Linked DNA regions of Homo sapiens: region 1 is linked to region 2. Evidence: promoter capture Hi-C in human tissues and cell types (Jung and others, 2019). All regions are on one chromosome and are shown on one strand. Each heading gives the region's core, a stretch centred on a gene start or on the middle of the fragment in contact. The rest is flanking DNA. Distances are from core to core; before and after follow the strand shown.

What was found. The method cuts DNA at HindIII sites, captures the fragments that hold promoters and counts their contacts. A contact is called where the count stands out against the background at its distance.
Region 1: a fragment that was not itself captured here is called in contact with the fragment with the promoter of ZNF471 in region 2 in 3 of the 25 tissues and cell types used here (adrenal gland, spleen and thymus).

What each region holds. Positions count from the first base shown.
Region 1 is chr19:56,423,863-56,428,740 of GRCh38, reverse strand. ZNF583 (zinc finger protein 583) reads right to left here. Exons shown (of 5, transcript NM_152478.3): 5 at 1,377-4,878. The coding sequence ends at 4,373. Among named protein-coding and RNA genes, the nearest start is that of ZNF583, 22 kb to the right of the region's middle. The HindIII fragment of the contact is 4,229 bases long and covers 711-4,878 here.
Region 2 is chr19:56,504,470-56,509,646 of GRCh38, reverse strand. It overlaps ZNF471 (zinc finger protein 471), which reads right to left and starts at 1,792. Exons shown (of 5, transcript NM_020813.4): 1 at 1,727-1,792. The HindIII fragment of the contact is 4,462 bases long and covers 1-3,284 here.

The DNA.
Region 1 (4,878 bases), core at 1,576-4,075, 82 kb after region 2:
ACTTTCACTAAGCATTTGCATACTTCTATAAATGCATTAGAAATAAAATATATTTTTAAATATACAATAGTGTATGCGAAATTTTTACATTTTCAACCAGTAAGTCCTTTAGTCAAATTCGTATCAATATTATCAGCCCATTCTTTTAAACTCCAGCATAGAACTCCTAGTCATTACTTTACTGATAGAAATTTAGGTTGTTTTCAGTGTTTCAAATACTAACTGTACCCTACAAAGTGGCTATAGTGAGCATTTTAAAAACTTCACTGCCTCTAAAGTAGCTGTGATGAGAAATCCTGTCTCCACACCACGACCAATATCTGGTATTATACTGTCTCAATTTGAATCTCTCCACCCGTGATTCCAGCACTTTGGGAGGCTGAGGGAAGAGGACCACTTGAGCCCAGGAGTTTGAGACCAGCCTCAGCAACAAAGTGAGACTTCATCTCTACAAAATAAATAAATAATAAATGAGCAAATTTGCATAACTTAATACTAATGAGGTTAAGCAGAGACTTAGACATCTGTATGTCTTCCACAATTTGGCCATTCTCATCTTTGCACATTTATATACTTGCTTAGTTGTCCTTTACTTATTGACTTATATGTGTTCTTACATGTGTCCGTTATGTGTTTCTTCCTTCCTGTTGCTTATCTTTTAACTTTCTTTAAAAGCACACTAATTTTTGTTGTTGTTGAGACCGAGTTTCACTCTTGTTACCCAAGTCGGAGTGCAATGTCGCGATCTCAGCTCACTGCATTCTCTGCTTCCTGGGATCAAGCCATTCACCTGCCTCAGCCTCCCAAGTGGCTGGGTTTACAGGTAGCCCCACCACACCCAGCTAATTTTGTATTTTTAGTAGAGACAGGGTTTCACCATGTTGATCAGGCTGGTCTCTAACTCCTGAGGTCAGGTGATCCACCCGCCTCGGCCTCCCAACGTGCTAGGATTACAGGCGTGAGCCACCATGCCTGGCCAAAAGCACAATAATTTTTTTTTTTTTTTGAGACAGAGTCTCACTCTATCGCCCAGGCTGGAGTGCAGTGGCATGATCTTGGCTCACTGCAACCTCTGCCACATGGTTCAAGTGATTCTCCTGCCTCAGCCTCTCAAGTAGCTGGGATCACAGATGCCTGCCACCACACCCAGCTAATTTTTTGTATTTTTAGTAGAGATGGGGTTTCACCATCTTGGCCAGGCTGGTTTTGAACTCATGACCTCATGATCCACCTGCCTCAGTCTCCCGAAGTGCTGGGATTACAGGTGTGAACCACCGCACCCAGCCAAAGCACACTATTTTTTGACACAGTCAATTTTATCAATCTTTTCCTTTATGGTATTTGAATATTTTAGAAACACGTGTCTGACACCAAAGTCGTTAACATATCCCACTATATTTTTTCTAATACTTTTGCTTTAGTAATTTACATTTAGATTTTTATTCAGTTAGAACTTATACTTGTTAATGGTGTGAAATAAGGATCCCATTCAATTTACTTATACAAGAGAGGGGAGAGTGAGGAGGCTTTTGGCAAGGGCTACTGACATAACTTTCACATACAAAGGCTTCAAGAGGCTTTTCATCATGTCTTCTTAGAAGCCACAGCCTGTACATAAGCCAACTCCAAGCCTGAACTTCTCTAGGGATCCTTTGGGCAGACTAGATTCCATTTTTAAAACCCTTCGGTCATTCGCATATAACATGCAGCATCTTCTGCTACAATTCATGAACACTCTTCCCTGTTTTGCCTTTTACAAAATTATTTCATCCACTCAAAAGCCTCACCTTTTTTTTTTTTTTAAGAATCATTTACATTGTTCTATGTGTATAATAGAATCTGGAGGGAAAGACATTGTGTGCCGAGTTTTTGAACTTCAAAATAAAATTCTACTTTTCCCAATTAAAATTCTGAAGTTGACAAATTGCCTACCAGAGTTTGTACAAACTCATGCTCTTTTAAATTAGTGCATAGTATCTCTTTTTGTATGCTTTCAATGCAGTTTTATTAATCTGATATTGAAAAAAATAGTATTTCATTGGCCTAAACTGTATTTCTTCTGATCCTAGGGAGATTTAGTACTTACCACATATTTATTGGTCACCTGTTGCCTCTTCATATCCTTTGACTATGAGCTGGAGAAAAGCGTCATTTCCTAAGGGATTTTTATGAGCAATTTTATGTTAAGGATATGAATTCCATAGTTTATATGTGCTGCAATAATTTTCTCCCATTCTTAGGTTTAAAAAATATTGTATCTTTTACTATCTTTGATCATATAAAAGCTTTATAAAGTTCTTATACAGTCAAATCTATGACTTGTTGACAGGAGGTGGGGAGGCTTCTGAATCTCATGTTTAGGAAGGCCAGTCTCATTCCATGATTAGAGTGTGTCACAGACTCCTCTAATCACTGTTTGTTCCACATTTAGATAAAGCACTTGAAAGTAACTTTCACATATGGAATGAATTGTTGTATAGAGCACGATAAATTTTTCCAAAACTGTTAAACCACTGATGGTATAGGTCACTTTTGTTATAATTTTCTTTATATGTGTAACAGCATGAATATGTATGTTCACACATACATGTTAAAACCTTACAAAATTTATTAGAATTTTGTTAGGTAGAATCTGTAAATTAATTCATGGGCTACTGACATCAGTATGATAGTGAATCTGTCTTACCATATAAAGGATAAAATATTTATTTGTCTTCTTTTTCATCCTCCATTAAACTTTCGTCATTCTGTTTGTATCTATAGTCACATGTGAATTGATCACTGCATTGATTATATGCCAAAAGAATTCTGGGGTCAGGAAGTAATATTAAAAGAGGTCAGATGTAAAGAATCAGGGAGTGGTTTGAATGTTGGAGAAAGGGAAAACACATGGTCTGCTGAAGGTATTCATATGTATTTTAAACTTAATGCATACAGAATCAAACATGTTTGTGGGCCAGTTTATGAGAACTGACCTACAGTTTTGGTTTCTTTTCTTCACTAGTTTTGAAATTTTAGTAATTTAACAACCTTTATTATTTTAAATGACATAGATTTGATATAATTCATTCACCCAGATTTAGAACAGGGGTTCAAACTTATACTTTATTTTCTACTCATCATTGGTTACTGACTTGTTTCAAGATTTCTTTTTAATTTCGATTTTGCCTTTGTTTACATGTAAATGATGAATACATCTCAGTAAACTGTCTTATTAAAAATGACTTTTTAGGCCAGGCACGGTAGCTCACGCATGTAATCCCAGCACTTTGGGAGGCCAAGGCAGGCGGATCACCGGACGTCAGGAGTTAGAGAAAAGCCTGGCCGACATGTCAAAACCCTCTCTCTACTAAAAATACAAAAATTAGCTGGGCGTGGTGGTGCAGGCCTGTAATCCCAGCTACTCAGGAGGCTGAGGCAGGAGAATCACTTGAACACAGGAGGCGGAGGTTGCAGTGAGCCAAGATTGCACTACTGCACTCAAGCCTGAGCAACAGAGCAAGACTCCATCTCAAAAAAAAAGACTTTTAAAATAAGACATTAGCATCTTAGAACTGTTAAATATCCAGTGAATGCTGATACAAGCCACCATCTTACCCTATATCATGGACTCTAATGTAAATCCTACTGTTAGATACCCTCCTCACCTACTTTTAGAAAAATGCCTACCATTCCTAAAAAAAAAAAAACTTCACAATCTCTCAGTCCTGAGCTGCTGCATCTCTTTTTATTTCTGAGATAATCATGGCTGAGATGATTGGCTTTCTATGTATAGTATGGTTATCTTTTTACTTTACATTATGGTTTGAGTAATTACTTTATGCTAGGCACGCTGCTGAGCAATTTACATGCATTATTTCATTCTTCTATTAACTTCTGAGGTAGAACCATTATTATTCCCACACTATAAATAAGACTGAAGCTTACAAAGCACAAACTGCTGCCCCCAAATTAGAGGGCAGGAAATGGAAGTGCAAAGATTGGAACCCAGGTCTTTTTGATCCTGGAATATGTATCTTAATCCTGGATAAGTATTCAGAGAATGAGATGGATAGTGACACAAGATAGAAACTTTGGAAGGTAACCTGGAACAAGGTGTTAGAGGCTAGGTTTTTAGGCTATTTTGAAGAATGTGTGCTTTAACTTAAAAACCATGGGATGCCACTGAGGGATTTTAATGAGGGAGAAATGAGATTAAACATATTTTTAAAAATACAAATTTGGTTGCAATGTGGACATCTGACAGAGACAATGGTGAGTACAAGGAGACCAATTAGAAAGCTACTCGAGTATCCCATGTCAAATATATTAATGTGCATTGGACAAGGATGATGGGATGGAAATGGATTCAAGAGGTGGATTCCAGAAATATTCAGGAGATGAAACCTACAGGTCTTGGCAACTGATTTGATGTGGAGGGTGAGGGAGAGGAAAGAGTCAAGAATGACTCCATAGTATGAATTCTCTCATGATGAGCAAGATGTGCACGCTGCCTGAAAGATTTCCTGCAATCTTTACATTCATAGGGTCTTTCTCCAGTATGAATTCTCTGATGTAGAGTAAGAGATCCACTATAGCTAAATGCTTTCCCACAAACATTACATTCATAAGGTTTCTCTCCAGTATGAATTCTCTGATGTTGAGCAAGGCCTGCATTCTGGCTAAATGTTTTCCTACATTCCTTACACATATAGGGTTTTTCTCCAGTATGACTTCTCTGATGTTGTGCAAGTGATGAACTATTGCTAAAGGCCTTCCCACATTCAATACATTCATAGGGTTTCTCTCCAGTATGAACCCTCTGATGTTGATCAAGGTATGCAATTTGGCTGAAGGCTTTCCTACATACTTTACATTCATAAGGTTTTTCTCCAGTAT
Region 2 (5,177 bases), core at 543-3,042:
GTGGGTGACCTCTAGGGCAACCCAATTCTGACACTATCTACCTGGAGACAGCATAAGATCCCACAGGTTGAGGGCTCAGCCCTACAAAATTGCTCCCCACTTCCAATGCCAGTTGCAAACCCCAGGTTGTTTTACTTGTGCTTCTGACTAGCTATAAATCGGGGTTCCTATGACCCCCTCCTTGCGTTCAATTAATTTGCTAGGGCAGCTCACAGAACTTAGGGAAACACGTTTGTAGTAATAAAGGATATTACAAAGGATGCAGGTGAAGAAATGCATAGGACAAGGTTATATAGGAAGGGGCTCATCCTACAGGAACCTCCAGTGTTCAGCTATCTGGAAGTTTGATGAACCCAGTCCTTTTGGGTTTTTATGGAAGCTTCATAATGTAGGCATGACTGGTTAAATCACTGACCACTGATGATCAGTTTAACCTGTGGCTCCCTTTCCTTTCCCTGGAGATTGAGGGATGGGGCAGGTAATCCCAACCCTCTAATCCTGCCTAGATTGTTCTTGTGACCATCCCTTACCGTGATCAACCTACAGGCTGCCAGCCCACCAATCATTAGCATGCAAAAAGACACTTAATACTTTGGAGATTCCAAGGATCTTAGAAGTCGTAAGCCAGGAAACATAACTTTGTCCTATACTTTGATCGCCTCCCTCTCTCTCACAAACTCATAACAACATAACCTAGTCTCACTCTTTGGACTCTCACAGTTTAGTCTCTTTCTCTCTCTCATACACACACACCAGCCTCTCAAGGAGCCTCACATAATGACTGGTCTTTCACACACAGCCACGTGCTCATCTCTCTCACACTCACTGGTCTCACGCTATGTTGTCTCTCACACACGAACACACCCTGGTCTCACACTCTGGTCTCTCTCAGTCTGTCAGACACACATAACACGGCCTCACACACTGACGGGTCTTTCACCCAAAACACCCATTTCTCACACTCACTGGTCTCCCTTTCACACATTAACATACCACAGTCTCACACTCTGTTCTTGCACAGTCTAGTCTCGCATACATGGTGATTCTTCTCTCTCTCGAACACACACCGGCCTCTCATTGAGCCTCACCCACCGACCGACCGGCCTTTCACACACAGGCACACGCCCATCTCTCACACTCACTGGTCTCTCACACTCCATCCAGCCCGTCTCACTCTCTCACACGAATACATCCTGGTCTCACGCTCTGGACACCTGGTCTGTTACACACTTACACACCCACACACCTCGCAACCTCTCACTGAGCTTCACACGCTCTCTTTCAAATGCAGGCACATCCCTATCTCTCTCACACTCACTGGTCTCTCACACTGGCCCGTCTCGCTCTGTCACACACGAACATACCCTGGTCTCACACTGGACTCTCGGTCTGTCACACACACACACACACACACACAGAAACCACACCCTCTCACGGAGCCTCACACTCTGACAGATCTTTTACACACAGGCACACCCCCATCTCTCCCACAGCTCACTCCAGTGGTCCCGCCGCCCCAAGCCGCCCCGAACGCCCAGCAGCCCCGAGCCGCGGCCTCCGCCCCGCAGACTCGAGTACGCGCGCCCCGCTGGCCTCTGGGAAATGTAGTCGTCCTGGGGACAGAGGACGCGGCTGGGCCTTCGCGACCCGCGTCGGAGCCGCCCGCCTCGCCTGCCCTTCCTGGCCCAGCCCTCGAGCTCGGACTCCCAAACCACCCAAAACAAACCCCCGGCCTCGTCTGGCACCCAGACGCTCTCATCCGAAGGACTCCGTGAGTCGACGCTGGAACCCCCCATCGCGCAGGCGCCAGCCTCTCTCCAGGGGTCGGACGAGAGGGGCGGAGACAAGGCGTGGCCTAGTGTTGAGGGGATTGTCCTCGGGCTGCTGAAGGAGTGAGAGGGACCTTAGAGCAGAGCGGGCGGTGCCTGCGCAGTGCGTGATTACGCGAGCCGGGCGTGGCCCAGGGTTCCGGCGGGTAAGAGCAGGAGTGTGCGCAGGCGCAAAGATTGCGCTCTCCCCCTCTCCTCGCCTAGAGACCAGAAGCGTCCCTAGTTACTAGTTCCTGGGGCCTGGGAGGGAAACGCGCGACGGCTGAGCCTTCGGTGTGAGTACGCGTGGGGCTTTGTGACGCTGTCTGTGCCTCTGTGATCGCGATGTCATTCGGAGCGCGGCCTTCTGTGCCAGTCCGTGGGAGTGTCATTATCTTTCTGTGTTAAGCTTATTTTGGAATAAGACAGCGACGAGGAACCCCGACCGTGTTGTGACTCTGGCGAATTAATACCTCTTTCAGCTGCAAATGGGAATGTCACTGATCAGAGGCAGTGAATAACACGACGTTTTTGGAACCAATCTGCTAGGCTTGAACCGCGTTCAGCCCCTTAACAAAATGGAAATGGTCCCCGTTTTAGGGGACTAGCCCTGACTAGGAGAACTGTAGAATTAGTATTGGAAGGTGAGACAAATAAGGAAAAGCAATTCAGGGGGATACAGCAGAGAAAAAAAAATCCCTGTCCTCTTATTATGTAATTTACTTTGAAGCGGAGAGAGACAAGCCACAAATTCATGAGTTAGATAAACAGTCTGATGAACAGTAAAAAGGGCTATGGAGAAATATAACTCAGAGAAGGTTGTATCGTATACATTTTTTCTATTGTCTCTTATAATGTCTTAACATGTCAAAAAAACCTGTCTGCAGCAGACACCAGCCAGGTGACCGCTACTCCAATTCAATTCTGACGCTACCTGGAAAACATCAGATCCTACAGGTTAGACAGCTCAGTCCCAAAAGACTGTCCCCCACTTCCCATGCCAATTCCAAACTCCAGATTGTTGTACCTGTGTTTCAGAGAGATGTGCTATAAATTGGGGCTCCCACAGCCGGCTCCTTGGGTTCCATTAGTTTGCTAGAGCAGCTCACAGAACTCAAGGAAACACTTATGTTTACTGGTTTATTATAAAAGATATTTTAAAGGATACAAATAGCCAGATGAAGAGACATGTAGGGCAAGGTCCGAGAGAATCCCTAGTGCAGGAACTTCTGTGCCCGTGGAGTTGGGGTGCACCACCCTCCCAGCACGAGGATGTGTTTTTGTCTACCTTCTTGGAAGCCGCTTGAACTCAGGCCTTTTCGGTTTTCAAGGTTTCATTATGTAGATGTGATTGATTAAATCATTGGCCACTGGCGATCAACTTAATTTTCAGGCTCTCTCTTTTCCCAGAAGTAGAGGGTGGAGCTGTGAGTTCCAGTCCTCTGAGCACATGGCTGGTTCCTCTGGCAACTAGCCACCACTCCCCCCAAATATTGGGATTATCTTGAGAGTTTCCAAAAATCACCTCATTAACATAAACTCATGTGTGGTTGAAATACTGTCTTTCACCTTTATGGCTCTGGAGCTGTTCTGGAGCTTTTTCAGGAACCAGGAACAAAAGGCCAGATATTTTAACAAAAGATACTTTATTGCTGCAGTCATTTAGGAAATTAAAAGAGCTGTAGGAACTGAGAGCCATGAACTGTACCTTTCTTTCTAACTCCACATTCAGTGATGTCATATTGGTAGATTGAAATCCACCACAAGGGGACTATTTACAGTATGGAAATACAGTCTACATCGCTAAAGGATGGAGATACATTCTGAGAAATGGGTTCTTAGGCAATTTCCTAAGAACCTTGTTGTGCAAACATCATAGAGTGTACTTACACAAACCTAGATTGTGTAGCCTACTACACACCCACACTCACTCAGACTGGGACAACTTAGACATACCAGTTAACTTACTGTGCACATCTTTGGGATGTGGGAGGAATCTGGAGTACCCAGAGAAAACCCATGGAGACATGGTGAGACTAGTCAGATTGCATTAGGACCCACCCTAACGACCTCATTTCAACTTAATTAACTCTGTAAAAATCCTATATCCAAATACAGTCACATTCTGAGGTACTGGGAGTTAGGACTTCAACATGCAAAATTTGGGGCAGACAAAATTCAACCAATAACAAGAGATTATTTTGATTCTTCTGTCCTCATTCATCCCACCAAGGAAGTAAGGGGTATTTCCATTATCATACTATATATTAAATTATCATTACATTACATATATAATGTTTTCTTTATCTAATTTTTACTTTATATATACCACATTTTTGTTCATGGGCCATCAAAGGTATTATCTCACATAATTCTTGTAAAAATAAAATTGAATAACTAACTTTACAGTTGAAGATTTAAACAATAAGGGACTTTTTCCAAAGCCACACATCTAATAAGTTTCAAAGGTATTACTCTAATTCAAGTTTCTTCTTTCCAAATTCAGAACTCTTTCCATCCTGTAACAGTGCACTATTTTTAAGCTTAACTCCTTTCTGAAGAATATCAAATTTAACAACAGTGTTGGTGACCAGGTGAATTTGGATTACAAATTAATTTCTGGGACAGAATATGATATTCTCAACTTTTGGAACTTCAGGTGAGAGTTGACCAGTTTTCCCCACAGGCTCCATGTGGTCAACGTTATTTGTTTAGAATTGGAAATGGCCTTGTATGACACTGGATCCAACTTATCCTAGCTTGGGGTCAGCTTTATTAATTCTAACAAACTCTTTTTTGTTTGTTTTGAGAAAATGCAAAGTTTGTTTAATCTCTTCAGGTTTCACAACCAGTGGTAGCATAGTGAGTTTATTCACGCCATCATGTTGAATTTTATAAAAGAATCTTACATATGGTTGACTGCTAACATCTACTTGCTTAGTCCCTGAGATTTGCTTATATGGGATAGAGTAGGAATTCCTACAAAAAGAAAGAGAGGTCTGAAAGATAAAATTCCTGGAGTAGCACTGAGTCAGAGTCTCTGGCAGAATCCCAACAAACTCACAGTTCCTGATTTACAGCCCAGGGATTCTTAAACAGTGGTGCCCAAGTGTAGTAACATCATTTGATTGTCCAAACATTAGTTAGCCTCTTCCCTGCCTTATATTATAATGTTCTTCAGGGCAGAAATGACCCGTATCTTGTCCTCTGTTCCTTCTACAGTGTCTAAGTAGATGTCAAGCACATAGTGGGTTATCAATACATTTTGTTAAATGAATGAATTAAAGAAGGACAAGCTATAGCCAAAACTTTAATGGGAGTTTGATGTTTTTTGCCTTTTGCAAGAATCTTGAAGCAAGAAGAATGGAT